Linked DNA regions of Homo sapiens: region 2 is linked to region 1. The links are contacts of gene promoters, found by promoter capture Hi-C in blood cells and fetal thymus (Javierre and others, 2016). All regions are on one chromosome and are shown on one strand. Each heading gives the region's core, a stretch centred on a gene start or on the middle of the fragment in contact. The rest is flanking DNA. Distances are from core to core; before and after follow the strand shown. Region 1 holds the start of PDC (phosducin). Region 2 overlaps PLA2G4A (phospholipase A2 group IVA).

The links. The method cuts DNA at HindIII sites, captures the fragments that hold promoters and counts their contacts. A CHiCAGO score of 5 or more calls a contact.
Region 2: a contact is called between a fragment that was not itself captured here and the fragment with the promoter of PDC in region 1, in 4 of 17 cell types (monocytes, total B cells, naive B cells and 1 more). The highest score is 6.9, in monocytes.

The regions. Positions count from the first base shown.
Region 1 is chr1:186,457,745-186,465,395 of GRCh38, reverse strand. PDC (phosducin) reads left to right here and starts at 4,282. Exons shown (of 4, transcript NM_002597.5): 1 at 4,282-4,337. The region is part of intron 3 of PDC-AS1 (PDC antisense RNA 1); the gene reads right to left. The HindIII fragment of the contact is 3,468 bases long and covers 3,548-7,015 here.
Region 2 is chr1:186,988,559-186,996,209 of GRCh38, reverse strand. PLA2G4A (phospholipase A2 group IVA) reads right to left here. Exons shown (of 18, transcript NM_024420.3): 18 at 7,229-7,651. Among named protein-coding and RNA genes, the nearest start is that of LINC01036, 100 kb to the left of the region's middle. The HindIII fragment of the contact is 4,093 bases long and covers 1,096-5,188 here.

The DNA.
Region 1 (7,651 bases), core at 3,033-5,532:
TGCCTTCTGACATTAATAAAAGCTTCCTGAGGCCTCACCAGAAGCAGTTACTGATGCCATGCTTCTTGTGCAGTTTGCAGAACCATGAGCCAAATAAACCTCTTTTCTTTATAAATTGCCCAGCCTCAGGTATTCCTTTGTATCTAGTGAAACCAAATGGACTATCATGGAAGCTTCCTTCAGTACAAATAAAAATTTCTTGACGATGGAGGATAATGTTCTATCCTCCATCTTTTGACAATATTTTTCAAAAGATGGAGGATAAAACATTAAATTGCTACTCCAGAGTTAATTCTGTCCAGCAAAAAAATAACCAGCCGGTAACAAGGATGTGTTGTAAACCTTCAAAAGGAAACAACTAAGGGACTTAAGCTACGAAAATAAAAGAAAAGGAAGGCTGACTACAGAAGAATAAGTGCTACAGATATATAGAAGGCAATAAGCATTACAGAAGGCAGGTGCCTGTAATCCCAGCCACTTGGGAGGCTGAGGCAGGAGAGTTACTTGACCCCAGCAGTTCAAGGCCAGCCTGGGTAACATAATGAGACCCCTTCTCTTAAAAAAAAAAGTTATATATTCTTTTGCCAAAGACTCTCTAAAATAAATAACATCAGGAGATAATAAAATTCTGACAATAACTATCTCCACATATTTTTAGGAAAGGAGAAAGATAAAGTGGCTGATGGTGTAACATCTCAGTGAATGCCCATATGATTTGTTAAAGGATACTATAAAAAGGTAGAAAAAAGGGTATGCAATCAAATATGATAAAATAAAATTAAGAATACTATAATCCAAAGTAAAATAGGTTTCAAAAATATGTTTGAAAAGATTTAAAATTATGCATATAGTAAGAAGACAATGAAGGAAGATATGTCTCCTCTTTACATGAGTAATAAATTGCTAAGAGAAAGAGAAACTGGAATTCTTACCTTGCTTTCCTCTTCTCAACCAAGAAGAATAAAATTCAGACAAGAAAGAGTAGAACGCATATTGGAAAAGGGAAATAAAATCCTAAACAGAAGAAATTACAGGACTATCTCATTCTGGTAAGTCTTTTCAGCAGTATGGTCTTGTTTCCAAACATGCCCTTCCAGCTCTAAATTTAATTCTGCTATTTGAAGACTGAGGGACATGTTTTCAAGTTCAAAGTAAGGAAAGGTTTATTTTTAGTAAAAACGATGTCTGCCACAGCGCCTGCTTCATTTACACCCTTTATTACTAAAAGTTCCCCAGCCCCTACTGAAAGGGAGCCCTATGTAGATCACATAACCTTGCCATCTGGCTAAAGCTGATTAGACCAAGGGTGTGACCTTGGCCAAATTATGCCAATGGCATAATGAAGCAAAATGGTTTCGGCTAAACAAATCATATTCTCCCAGAATACTCATTTGGAAACATGGAAATAGCCAAGCTGTTATCAATAGATGGGAGGCTTAAAAAACTTCTATAGATAGGTGTCTTGAGTAGAGTCAAGGCCATGAGGGGGGTTATGGAAAACAGAACAAATAAGAAAATATATATTGAGGAAGCACAGGCTGTAAAGTAAAGGTGATATGGAAGGCCTTAGGAAGAGTATTAACTAGTGACAGAAGATCAGCCACGGCGGGAGGAGCAGGGTTGGGGGCAGGCAGTGCATGCGGTTAGTGGGATGGAAAGCCGCAATCTTGGTATTTGAGCCCTACTGGGAAGATCAACAGACCCCTCCCAGCTGCTAAGGTGTTTACTCCAGCATTGTATCCTCCAAGATTTTGAGCTGACATTCCATTCTCCTAGGACTAGAGTGTATAGCTGTCCTTGAACTCCTAAGGAATTCATGGTTTTCTTTCAATTCTGTCCTTACAATTAACTTTCTCACGCTCAAAAAGAAAAAAAAAAAGAGCAAGTAGATATATATGACAGCCTTGGAACCAGAAGAATCTACACTGAAGGCTGTTTAGGATTTAAAGAAAATTCTGTAATTTCATCTTTTTAGAGCAGGTAATTTAATCTGCCCTAAACAGGAGACTTTACTGGTTAACAGTGTGGACCATGGAATTAAGTCATACCTGAATTCGAACGCTGGGGTCTGCATGGACATAATGTCAACATTTGAAACATAAAAACTGTTTTCTTGCTGCTGTATATAGAAGTACCTTGTCCACAGAAGAGTGCTTTCACACAGTAGGCATTCCACTAATATTGGGGAATAAATGCATCAGTTAGATAAGTTATAAAACTTATCCAAGCCTGTCTCCTCATCTATAAAATTATACTTGACCTACCTCAGGGGATTGTTGTAAAGATTATGCGAAGTAAACAATTAGTACCTGACCTGGCATGATGAGCACTCAGAAAGTGTCCTAATTATTAATATTTTTATTTCTGTTTTCTAAGATTATTTTCAGCTGGTTTATAATGTTTGTGCCTTGTAAAGTATTTAGTATTCTTAAAATTGGATGTAAAATCATATATAAAAATCTAAACACTATATCAACATATAATTCTAATACTTTTAAATGTTTTTACATCAATCAAGAATCATATGTGTGAAATAATGACCTTTTGGGCTTTGACTCTTGACAAGTTTTCATGATCTACAAAAATTACTCAATTCATAATTGAAGCAATTAGATCAGATATGCTTGTCCAAATTGTAGGCAAGTGTGTGATGTCCGTAATGACCCCAAATCCCTCCAGTGAACAGGTGCCAGAGATAGCACAAAATAAAAAGCAAATTATGGAAATATCTGTGTTGGGAAGGTGGGGGTAGGATAGGAATTGCTATAGTAATTTTTTTTTTACCGTTAAGTCTCTATGCTTGTGCCTATATTACATATTTGAACATATGAGTACCAAGCTATATTTGACAGTAACTTAAAACATATTTTTTGAATGTTAAAACCACTATGACATTTTTTATCATCAAACTGAAATATTAAATTTCTTCACATTTGCCATCAGAAGGCATCTTTTAAGTTACATTTGTATTGCACCTGACTACATTCTAGATTCTTTAGCTAGAGAGAAAACACTCAGTTCATAAAAACTGAAAGTGAATTGCCCTGAGAAACTCTGTTGAAAAGCATATGTATAGCACACAAACTGGAACATGAAACCTGCTAAATGGGAGGTAAAAATTTGATTTAAGGATGAAAATGAAAGTTAATTTAGAAAATACTTTGATTTCTGGAAGAATCTCTTTGAAAATATTTATGGTTGTGACTCTCTTAAATATTGTAAATTTTATGTACTCTTCTCTATTCTTGAAATCAAATTCTACAATAAAAAATATATAAGCAAACAAAGTTCTGAAATGTGACAGGTTTCCCTCTTACTAACAAAGAGTAAATAAATGACAAATTAATTTAGTATAATAAAACATAACTATTAAAATTTATTTAGACACTATCACTGTTTAAATTGCATTAAGATCCACTTAAAGTTTCTGGGTGAAGCTACATATGACTAAACCTTATAATTTAAAAATCTAAATGTGTTCATTTTAATTGCCATTAATATTAAAAATTTTGTCCTCTTGCTAATTAAAAATTTCCAGTTTTAAGCTTAGAGTAAATTAAATCTCCTACTTTGGCAAAGTTAGATGAGAATTTGGCTGTGAGGATGAAAGATGTTAGGAAAAGATGGAAGATTAAACACATGCATCTACTTCCCCTACATCTCAAAACTCCATTAAAAAACAGCAGGAAAGGAATTTTTAATGGTAAAAACCAGAAACAATAAGGAGAAGTGAAAAGGAGAAAATGCCAATAAAACTAGAATCCAGAAAGCAAGTAGATCTGTAAAGACAGCCCATCTGAAAAAATTGTATTAAAAGCCTGTAGTAAGAGAAGATGAAAATCATAGTATCTCTCTTATTCCTCCCAATGTTGTAGTAATCATAGCACTTCATTGTGATTATCTTTTTACTTACCTGTCTCCCCCACTAGACTGCAAGCCTCACGATATAGGAAATAGGGTTTATTTGTCTTTGTACCCTAGTGCCTAGCTACTGCTTGTTTCACACAAAGTAGGTGCTCAGTAGATGATTATGGGACTAATGAATACAACTCATGTTATTGCGATAAATAGTACTAATAATGACCTCTGTCTCTCATCTATTCAATGTGTTCTGTAAAATATAAACTGACTACTCTTTGTTTGGTTTTGCCTTATTATTAATGAACTGGCCTTGCTAATTCTGTCAATCCTATTACTTGTTCAGAGCTATTTCTGCAAGGGTCATCAATATCTGGAGATTTTAAATCTGAGCTTAAACCTATTGAAGTTCAAGACGAGTTCAGTAGACAGGGATTCTCACCCACTCAACAAGGACACCAGGCACAGAGATCCAAACTGTGAGTCCACAAGTAGTCCTTTTGATAATATAATTTTAAAAATTTTACCTTAGGGGAAAGAATGGTGATTCACTGTTTATGTATTATTGTGTTAATGTAAAATAGTTCAAAGTACATAAGGTTTTGAATTATCTACTATAAAGACAATTAAATACAGCGTATCCTTCTCTCTTTCAGTGATTTCCACCAGTCATCTTCACTAATACAGATTCAGAGTAAACACGCAATTTTGAGCCTGATATTCTAGACTGTTAAAATAAGACCATGAATGGAGAACTCATTTTGCAATTTTAAATTTCCTTTGAGTGAAGGGAGAACTAAAGAGAATAAATGATGAGTCCTTGCACTTTATGTTTGAAGATCTGGCTCCCAAGTTGGAAAAGGAGTGCGGTAGTTGCCCCTTATCCAAGGGGGATATGTTCCAGGACCCCCACTGGATGCCTAAAACCATAGATAAAACTGAACCTTGTGTGTATACTATGTTGTTTTCCTGAACATACATACCTGTGATAAAGTTTAATTTATAAATTAGACACAGTCAGAGGTTAACCATAATCACTAATAATAAAATAGAACCTTTATAACAATATGCTACCATCACAACACTTGCGCTTTGGGACCTTATTAAGTAAATAAGGGTTACTTGAACACAAGCACTGCAATAGTCAATCTGATAACCAAGACAGTAATGCATATGGTGTGGATATGGTATACAAAGAGATGTTTCATGTTCCAGGCCAGAGAGAGCAGGATAGTGTGAGATTTCATCAAGCTACTCAGTACACTGCAAATCTAAAACTTGCAAATTGTTTATCTCTGGAATTTTTCATCTAATATTTTTGGACCAAGGTTGACCAAGGGTAACTGTAATCACAGAAAGAAAAACCTCAGATAAGTGAGGACTGCTGTATTCATCCGGCGCTAAGGCATGTTTTGAGGCTTTTCCTTAGTAGTATGTTGTTGTGGCGGTGGTTTGTTGGTGGTTTTTAATTTTTAAAGTAGAAATAATGTTTGTTTTGAAAGGTTACTTTAGAAATTTAATGAAACAGAAATAATGTTTTTAAAAGAAAAGAACACAGAGTTTGTTGATATTTCTTAAATTCAGTGAAAATTTTCTTTCAATTGGTTTTTTTTTTTCTATTTTGTTTCCATGGAGGTTATTATTATTACTAATAAACCTTACAGTTTGCATCATGAAAATGAGTGCAGTAATTGATTTGCAATGGAGTATTTTTATTAACTGCAAAAATAGCTTCTAACTATAGAGTCCATTTTAAATATATATATATATATATATATATATATACACACACACACATATTGTCCATTGTACCTGCTACTTAGAATCACCTCATATTAAAGCTAGAAAAAACTTTAGAGATCATCTAATTCATCATGACAATTTCTGCCCAAATACTATGTTTATAAGTGGATTTGATATTATATAAGTCATTATCAAAATATATATGAACCATTCATAATAATGTCTGTAATGGAATTCAAACAATATGTACAGGAATATGTATATTTACAAGATAAACAGATACTTTAAAAAAGATGGCTGTTATGAATTTCTAAAATTCTATTTTCTCCAGAACAAGTAAAAGAATATCTGTATGTCTGCAATCCCGGCACCTCGGGAGGCCAAGGCTGGCGGATCACTCGCGGTTAGGGGCTGGAGACCCGGCCAACACAGCGAAACCCCGTCTCCACCAAAACCAGTCAGGCGTGGCGGCGCGTGCCTGCAATCGCAGGCACTCGGCAGGCTTAGAGCTTGTTAAAGATTCCTGGGTCCCACTTCAGATCTGCAAAGCAGGATCTTAGAATCTAGGGCCTGAAAAGGAGGAAGGGTCCTGGTAAATATCCCCAGGCTTTCTTTTTCTTTTTTTCTTTTTTTGAGTTGGAGTCTCATTCTGTCCCCCAGGCTGGAGTGCAGTGGCGAGATGTCGGCTCACTGCAACCTGCGCCTCCCAGGTTCAAGCGATTCTCCTGCGTCAGCCTCCGGAGTATCTGGGACTACAGGCACCCACCACCACGCCCGGTTAATTTTTGTACTTTTTGTAGAGATGGGGTTTTGCCATGTTGCCCAGGCTGGTCTTGAATTCCTGCGCTCAAGTGATCCACCTGCCTTGGCCTCTCAAAGCGTTGGGATTACAGGCGTGAGCCACCGCGCGCAGCCTCTCCAGGCTTTCAGCTGGGACCATGAAGGGCTCCACTCTTTGTGGTGATGATCAGAGGGGCGTATGCCCTCCATAACACTCCCATTCTTCATCTTTTCTCATATTCCAGGAGACTGGCCCAAACAGGACTGTTGAGTGGCTCTAAGGCTTTTAGACGTCAAAAGGGTTTATAAGAATAATCATCATAATATAGTTATGAATCAGAAACATGCATACATTTTCTTAAATGACCCTGTGGGGACTGGAGTTAAAAAGGGAGGAGTACCCAGATGCAGGCGTCTAGCAGAATGGACTTGCTTGAGAATATCAAGCAAGACAGCCAAAGAGGACTCCTAGGATTGTCTCACCAGGACTTCTGAGGCGACTCTAATGAAATGACTTAAAAGTGTGGTGGAGTGGCTTCTGTGGCTCCCACACCTGCCTAATCCTGGTTGATATTGCACAACCAGCGTGCACTGACAATCTCTGGGAAAAAAGCAAGGTCTAATATTCAAAGCTTGGCAAACATGACCAAGACTTTTTCTCTTTCCTTTGAATTATTTTAGTTCCCTAATTTTTTGTCCCAGATGCCACTTAATTCTTTTTATTTTGTATTAAAAGTTGTGCTCTTGTCTCAACCTTCTTTCTAAAAAAAAAAAAAAAAAAAAAAAAAGAATATCTGTATGTCATAATAGCAAACTTGGATAGGTGGATGTCTTTTCACTAGGAACAAGAATTCAGTTATGACTTTTAAAGCTCATATTTCCAGAGTAAATTTTTTTTTACTGATGATACAGGATAACAGATAGGAAATTGATATTTGCTATGCATTCCTGACATACTAATTGTTTAAAAGGCTCCCTACAACTCCCCTGCCCAGTCCCATTTGTTGAAAAAGCAAAACTATTTGAGTAGGGTAGAAACAGAAAATATTACATCAGTTCTATAGTGTCTTATATCAAAATTTCTATCATAGTTTTTCTATCAAAGTTCTTATGAACTTTATCTAGATACTGGGAGTGGGGGGAAGTCAGGCATAAAGTAAGGAAAATTTTCAACAGCATCAGGATGAATGTTTTGTATTTAAAAGAAAGAAAACAAACATTTGCTGACTGCCAACAATTTTCTAATTTGTTATAGCCATTTTGAGGACCA
Region 2 (7,651 bases), core at 1,893-4,392, 530 kb before region 1:
AACAAAAACAGACTCCATTAGGATTGCTCTTTTACTCTCTCCACAAACTTGAATGATACCATGGCAACAGATGAGGCTAGTAGCCTCTTTGTTTCTGTCAAAAGCATGTCACTAGGCCAATTTAAAACACTTTCTGAAACTCTTCTCTCATTTAATCAACTCAAAAAGAATTATCACTGATTGCGTGCCAGGTTCTATTCTAGGAATGAACTCCTCAGTCAGCCTCAGAAAGTGAGAGAGCAGTGTAATAGAGAAAGTAATGTTTCCACGACTCCAGAGAAGGATATGTGTTTTATAGATTACTGGAGGCATGTTTTTAAGTCAGTGGAATGGGGATGAGAAAGGCATTGCTGATGGAGTCACCAGCAAATACAAAGGCAGGTAATTATGAGAGAGAATAATGTAGAGTGGTGAATTGGAATATAAATTGCAAGAGGGATATGAGTTTAATGGGAGAGGGAAGGGAATTCATGATAAATGAAATCGGTAGAAACTAGATAGCAGTAGGCAATATATGTCTCTTTAGAGTTTGGACTATTTTCCTTCAGTGAATGAAGAGCCATTAAGAGCTTCTGAGCAGGTAAATGACAATCCAATTTGCATTTTTGAAAGGAGACTCTGATAACAATATAGGGGCCAAATTGGAGGTTGATGAAACTTGCTTCAGTCTTCAGTGAGACCTGTAAGAACAGTCTTCTGGACTCCTGTACTCCATTCAACCTAGAATTTATTCTAATGTGGCTTCTGTTGGGGACTTGTTTCTTTTTCTAGTTTTTTTTTCTATGTTTAATATAATTATGTGGTTGTTCCATTAACCTCATCTCATCATGATTTTTGGAGCTGTTGAACATCATCACTGTTTCCTTTTATGCTTTAGTGTTTAGTATAGCATTTTGCTGCAAGTAGATCAATGCAAATGCTAATAACTAAACCAGGAACTAATTGAATGAGAACTTAGCTGATGAAAGTCAGAAACCAGGACTGGGATGGGTTTGTGATTTCCTCTGAAAGTATCAATGCTGTCACTGTATAGAGACACAGTGGTTAGAGCACACTTAGAGCTAAGGGTCATGCTTAACTCTGCAGAGGGAAGCTTGAAACTTCACTGAAGAAATAATATTTCAACTAGATCTAGCAGAACAAACCAGAAGAGAAAAATTGCACAAAGGAATTGTGAAAGGGCACAATGCAATGAATGATCAGAGCATGATGAGAGGCGTAGCTGAAGTTTAGGGTGAGTGAGGAAGTGATGAAAGGAAATCAGACTAAAAGTAGACTAGGCAATGGATGTGAAGGGCCTTGTAAGCCATGGTATGTTTAAACATACTATATGTTAGCCATGGTATGTTCATAGTGTTTTCCATATGTAGTCATATTTGCCATCGTGTTTGTATTCACTCAGTTTAGAGTAAGAGGAAATTAGCTCACACTAAAACACTGGGGAAAAGGGATTATTATTAAAAACTGCTTTGTTTGCAGCAGGCAAAATATTCAAGAGGTTCAGACAATAATTTACATAATGAGTTTTAGCACAGCAATAATTGAATCTTCCCTAAAATATTTCCCTCTCCAACTAGTTATCCAATTTAAAATATCACCATAGGTTTATTATCATATATTAGCAAAAATCCTCATCTAAAATAGAAACAGTGCCACAGCTTATATACTCTGAGTAATAAAGTACCATGGAACCATCTAAACTGGCCCCTACTACTCACCAATAAATGAATCCCCCGAACTCATCTTCTGTGAATATGTGAATAACCACAGTGATAAAAATTTATTTGCATCACGGATTTTATTTCATTTTTAAACAATCTAGTTGGTAGAAACCTCTTCCTTATTTGGACTCACGCAGTGCCTTATTCCTCTTCCACTAGAAACCTAGTCATGATTTTCTATTTCTGCCAATTCCAATCAATTGGTATGACTGACGTGGGGCACATGGCTGAGCAGGAATCTAAAACTACATCCAGATTCATCAATGAAAAATAAATGATTCAGTGGCTGTATTTGCCAGGAATTCTGGAAGGGAGAGTGGCAACTTGCGTGATATGTTTTTCATTCCAAGCTGAGACTATTTGAAGACAACTATAATAGCTCTACCATCTGTGCTGTGAAATGGTTCCCATATAAATGCCTAATACAAAGCATAATCTTAATAAAAGTTTTTTGAGTGGATTTAAGACATTGTTGCTAGCCCTCTAGGAGTCATTTTTTTCTTGGACATTCTAGACAATGCCTACCTTAAAATTTTAATGTTCTACATCTTCTTTCCGTCTTTACTATTGGTGTATTGAATTCTAGTACAGGGTTCTCCATTTGTTCCTGTTAAATTTCATCTGGTTAGAGTTAGCTTGTTTCAACATATATTTTTAAATTACTTTCCAAAATATTTTGAGGTTTTAAGAGTTCTTGAATATAATGTATGCCAGTGGATGGATGCCAAACAAATCCTAAAGTAATATTAAAATGCATTGAAGAATATAGAATCCACAACAAGGAGGTAATAAGCTCACTCCAGGAGAGAAATCACCTGCCTCCTAAATCCTATTTGAATTTCTACTTATCTTTTAATACTCAGCCTAAAAGCTAATTCTCCATGAAAACTTCCCATAATTACCCCAGTTGTAATGACTCAGTTTGTAAACTCTTTGAAAGAAGAATCAAGTCTCATGTATTTTGGTATCTATCTTAGGTCAGGTTCTATAGAAAAAGACTGAGATAAAGGTTCTCATGTAATACGTTGAAGGAGTGTGCGATGATGAACCTGATGAGGAGTGAAGAAAGATAAAAGAGGGAGAAAACCTCAGTAAAGAAATGGGTTTAGTTGAAGTCTTATCTCAGCCTGATCCCAGGGAAAACTCTTGAGCATGAAAAACATCACAGAATTATCCTTATTTATAATAAATACACATTACAGGCATTCAGAGCTCTTTGTAACCCCTCATCAGTTAGTCACTGGTTGCAGCTTTCCTCAGGAGGAAGGCAAAACCAACCATATCTCATCAGCTGAGAACAATTCTCAGAATAAGAATGCAGCTGTAGACTTTTAGCAGCCAATACTCACAGCAGCTTGGAGATGAGTGTCTGACCAGGAAAAGGGGATCTGGACAGAACAACAGCAGTACCTGCTACAGTTTCTCTCCAGAATCAAGTGTGGCATCTTACATGTATAAGACACAATAGATGCTTACTGATCTGTAGTGTTTAGAGAATTCAACCAAAATGCAACTCTTCTATTCGCCACATTTTTATTATTGGCTATTCCTTGTTTCGCTCTTATGCTTATACAGCGAAAGGTGGCGTTAATTAATTGGATTTTTAATTTGGTAGTACAGTAATAGAAGAAATATAAAAATCACTAGGATGTCACAAAACTCTAACCCTTAAACTATTTGGTGAAAGCAGCTCTGTGGAATTTTTAGCTTGTGATTTATTTTCTTTATTTGTTTTTATTAAATATATAAATAGTAGGATTTACATTGATCAGCTGTAGAAAAAAGAGTTAAAAGAGTATGGATATGAAATGGGAGCCACTGATGTAAACTCCTTTAATTTGTTCAGAGAATCCTCCAACTGAAATTCTGTTGCTAATTTTAAGTAATTTTTAACAGTATGAAACACTGTGGAGCTTACAGAAAAGTTGCAAATGTGATAGGAGAGATGTTTTTCTTCTCTGAGCCATTTAGGAATAAGTTACTAACATGAAGTTCCATCACCCTGAATAGTTTAATGTGTGCTTACTACAGATAAGGATAATCTGCTACCTATCCACAATATAAGCATCACATCAGGATATTAGCATTGATACATTACTATGACCAACTCTTCAGAGCCCATTCATATTTCACCAGTTGTTCTGCTGGCATCTTTTATCTGTCAGTGGAACAGTTGGTGAAACATGAATGGAAGAATTCAGGTCAGAATCCCATGTTGCTTTCAGTTGTCATGCTTCTTTAGTCTTCTTCAGTCTGGAACAGTTCTGTCTTTCCTTGACTTGCCTAATCTTTACAATTTTGAAGATGACAGATGGCTATACTTGACATTTCTTGCAATTTGAGTTTGCCTGTCACTTCTTCGTGATTAGATTCAGGTGCTGCATCTATGGCAGGATTATCACAGAAGCAATGCTACATTCTCTTTGCATTCTACCAAGTGGGGCAATTTCGGTTTGCCTCACTTTTGAGAACACCAGTTTTGATTACTTAGTCTGCCAGGTTTCTCTACTACAAAGTTACTTTTTTCCCTTTGTAATTAAGTATTTTATAAGAGGAAGTATTTTGAGATTATGTAAATATCTGGTTCCTTATTAATCTATTTATCTATTTACATCAAATGAGGTCATTGTTTCCTATATTATTCAATGGATCATAATCTGTTGCCAACATTATTTATTTGAATGTTTAATTTTTTCCAAAAAGAGCCAGTAGGTGTCCCTTCAAGCTGGCTTATGTGTCTTTTTGACATGTCCTTATCATTCTTTGAGCACTTCTGTACTGTGGCAAAATAAAATGGTCTAGCATCATTTTATACTTGTTCTGTCCGACCTAGAATCAGCCACTTCCTTGAGGATCCTAGGTTTCTGTTGTTATATGATGGGATTTGAAAGCCAACTGCTGTGTCCAGCTGTGCTCATTGCTATTGGGAGTATCACCGCTCCCAGATCCTCTCAGTGACAGACGTACAGAATCTCTACACACACCCACTTTCATGTCTGTTTATTCTATATATCTCTACTTATACTAAAACCCGTGAATTCATACTAATACCTCCTACTTCAACTTAACACCACACAACCTTCTGTTTTTCTTCATTTTCATATTTGTAACTCCATTCCAGTGAGAAAACTGGCACTCATTATATTTATTATATTTCATATATTTAATTACTTCATTGGTTCCCCCATGTGTAAGCAAGCTGCACTGTCTGTGCCACACCTTCCTCTGCATGGATGCCCTCCCATCTCAGGTTTTGGTGTCTGACTTTGATTCCCCATTGATTCCCATGGCTTTGGGATTAAATTGTTTAAGGAGGTAAAGAGAAGGGGAAAGGAAAAAGAAAGAGGAACTACTGTTGAAACTTTTATAAAGTGTTTTCCATGTTAGAACAAAGGTATTCATGAAAAGTTTAAAATTGTATACTTCAGAAGAAATGAAATTAGATATATACATACACACACCAAGCTTTTATTTTGTTGCTTTCATTGCTTATCAAAAAACAAAAAAAACCCTGAAATTGCACAGCTTGTTCATGGATGAGGTAAAGTAGCAGCCCTGTCATGGCGTGAACAATGAACAAACTAGAACACTTGTGCTTGCGTGAAAAAGGCAAAGAGCCAAGCCGAAATTACTAGGGCACGTTGATCATTTTGGGGAAGACTAAGGGGACATCTCACTTGTCAGTCATTCTTTGGAACAAAGAAATAATAAAAAAAAAATGTACAGATTTAACTGGCCACCCAATGTGTGTTTTTATAAAATCAGAATTCTAGTAAATTCATAAATGAAAAAATGGCAAAGCTGAATTAGATGAAAAGCCTCTGTTATTGTAGTTAAGAAACTAAAAGCATGTGAACAAAGGGAAAGCAAGTGTCCTAGTTGGTCCCAGCTTTATAATGACTGTCACTGAAGTGTTCATCTAATTTGTTTCTAGAGGGCACCATAGATGGTGATATACAGGCCATAGGGTCAACAGCATAGGGACCTGGTTCAGAATTTAGTCATCTTGGACATATTTCTTAACCTCTCTGGTCTTGTTTCTTTACAGAGGTATTTGGAAGGATAAATCAAATGCAAACAATATTGCCAAAGTTTGAACAAATAAGAGAAAATTAATTGTACACCTCCCACTCTGCCTTAGGCACGTTGGTCCCTTCTCTGTTTCCGGAATATGCTTGGTGCTCTACCTCAGGGAACTTTGATTTGTTATTTCCTCTGCCCGCAGTGCTTCTCCGTTGGATAGCCTCAGGTCTTGCTCCCTCAGCTCTTCACCTCTTTGCTGCGATGTCACCTTCATATTATGGCCTTCTCTAGGACCCCCTGTAAAATTACACACCTCTAACACATCCCATCTCCTCTTTTTCCTGCTTTTTCTTCTTAGCACTTATCACTCTCTAACATTCAACATATGTCTGTGTCATGTTTATCATCTTTGGTCATCTCCACCAGAATGCAAGGTCCTTAGGCAGGCACTTCGGTCCGTTTTTTCTACTTTTGTGCCCCTAGATCCTGGGATCCTGCAACATGCTTGACAGCATGCAGTAGGCACTCATTTGCCATAGGCATAAATCAATGAACAATAGAATGAACGTTCAAGGCTTCCTTTTATTGTTTTTTGTCTTTCCTCATAGGCAGAAAAGTGAAAGGTGAGAGGATAAAAAGAAAAATGAATAAAGAGCTTAAAGAAAGATAATTCAAGGAAAGAAGAATGGCAGACAGTTAAGAAGAGGAAGACCTGAGCTTTGGAACATTCTGAACCATAACAGTTCAGCTGCAACTGCAGCCACAGTTGTGTCATACAGTGTTCCCAAGACAAATCTTGCAGATGCAAGAGGTAGGCCACTTATTAAGCTTGATTCAGCCCTTACCACTTTTTTGGATTATTCTCTGAGGTCAACTACACTGGTTGTTGGATAAGCAGTCCAGGATAATATTAGCCAAGGGAAATGTTACATTAGAAGTGGTTACACATATATTTTCTACTTAATGAATAAACATATACCATTTTCTGAAAAAATTATATATTCATCTTTCAGAAAAAAAACCTATGATTTAAAATTAAAAGTTTCAGCCAGGCGCGGTGGCTCACACCTGTAATCCCAGCGCTTTGGGAGGCTGGGGCGGGCAGATCAAGAGGTCAGGAGTTTGAGACCAGCCTGGCCAACATAGTGAAACCCCGTCTGTACTAAAAATCTAAAAATTGGCTGGGTGTGGTGGCGGGCACCTGTAGTCCCAGCTACTCGGGAGGCTGAGGCAGGGGAATCGCTTGAACCTGGGAGGCGGAGCTTGTGGTGAGCCAAGATCACACCACTGCACTCCAGCCTAGGTGACAGAGTGAGACTCTGTCTCACAAAAAAATTAATTAATTAATTAAATTAAATTAAAAGTTTCACACTTGAGTTTAGGATGAACAACTTTTGCGTTTGAAAGCAGTGAATATGAGAATCTTTCATAGCAATAGTCCAATATCTCATTAAAAATTAACAAAAAACTCAGTTATCTCATGCTTATTTTTATATTGATGTATTTATTTCATGTATGTATATATATGCATATATAAATAAAAATAGTGTTGTCTCATGGTATGAATAAATCTAGTCAGTGAATAACATTCATACATAATGCGAGGTCTTATTGAGATTGAACTGTTAAATATTTTAAAAGAAAAAAAATTTTTAAAAAGAACACACATAAGAAAGTTGGTGAGAAATGTTTAAAAATACAGTATATATCCCTACATTTGTATCAGGAAGTTCATACTGACTGAAAATGTAGCTAAGTATATCCTTACATAATCAACATCATTTGTCAACCTAACTTATAATAGTATTATTCTCATGCAGCTAAGTAACTGCAACTTTGAGTATCAGCCAGTCTCTCATGATCAGTACGACTATCTGTACTGTACTTTTAAATCCAGTTGTCATGGG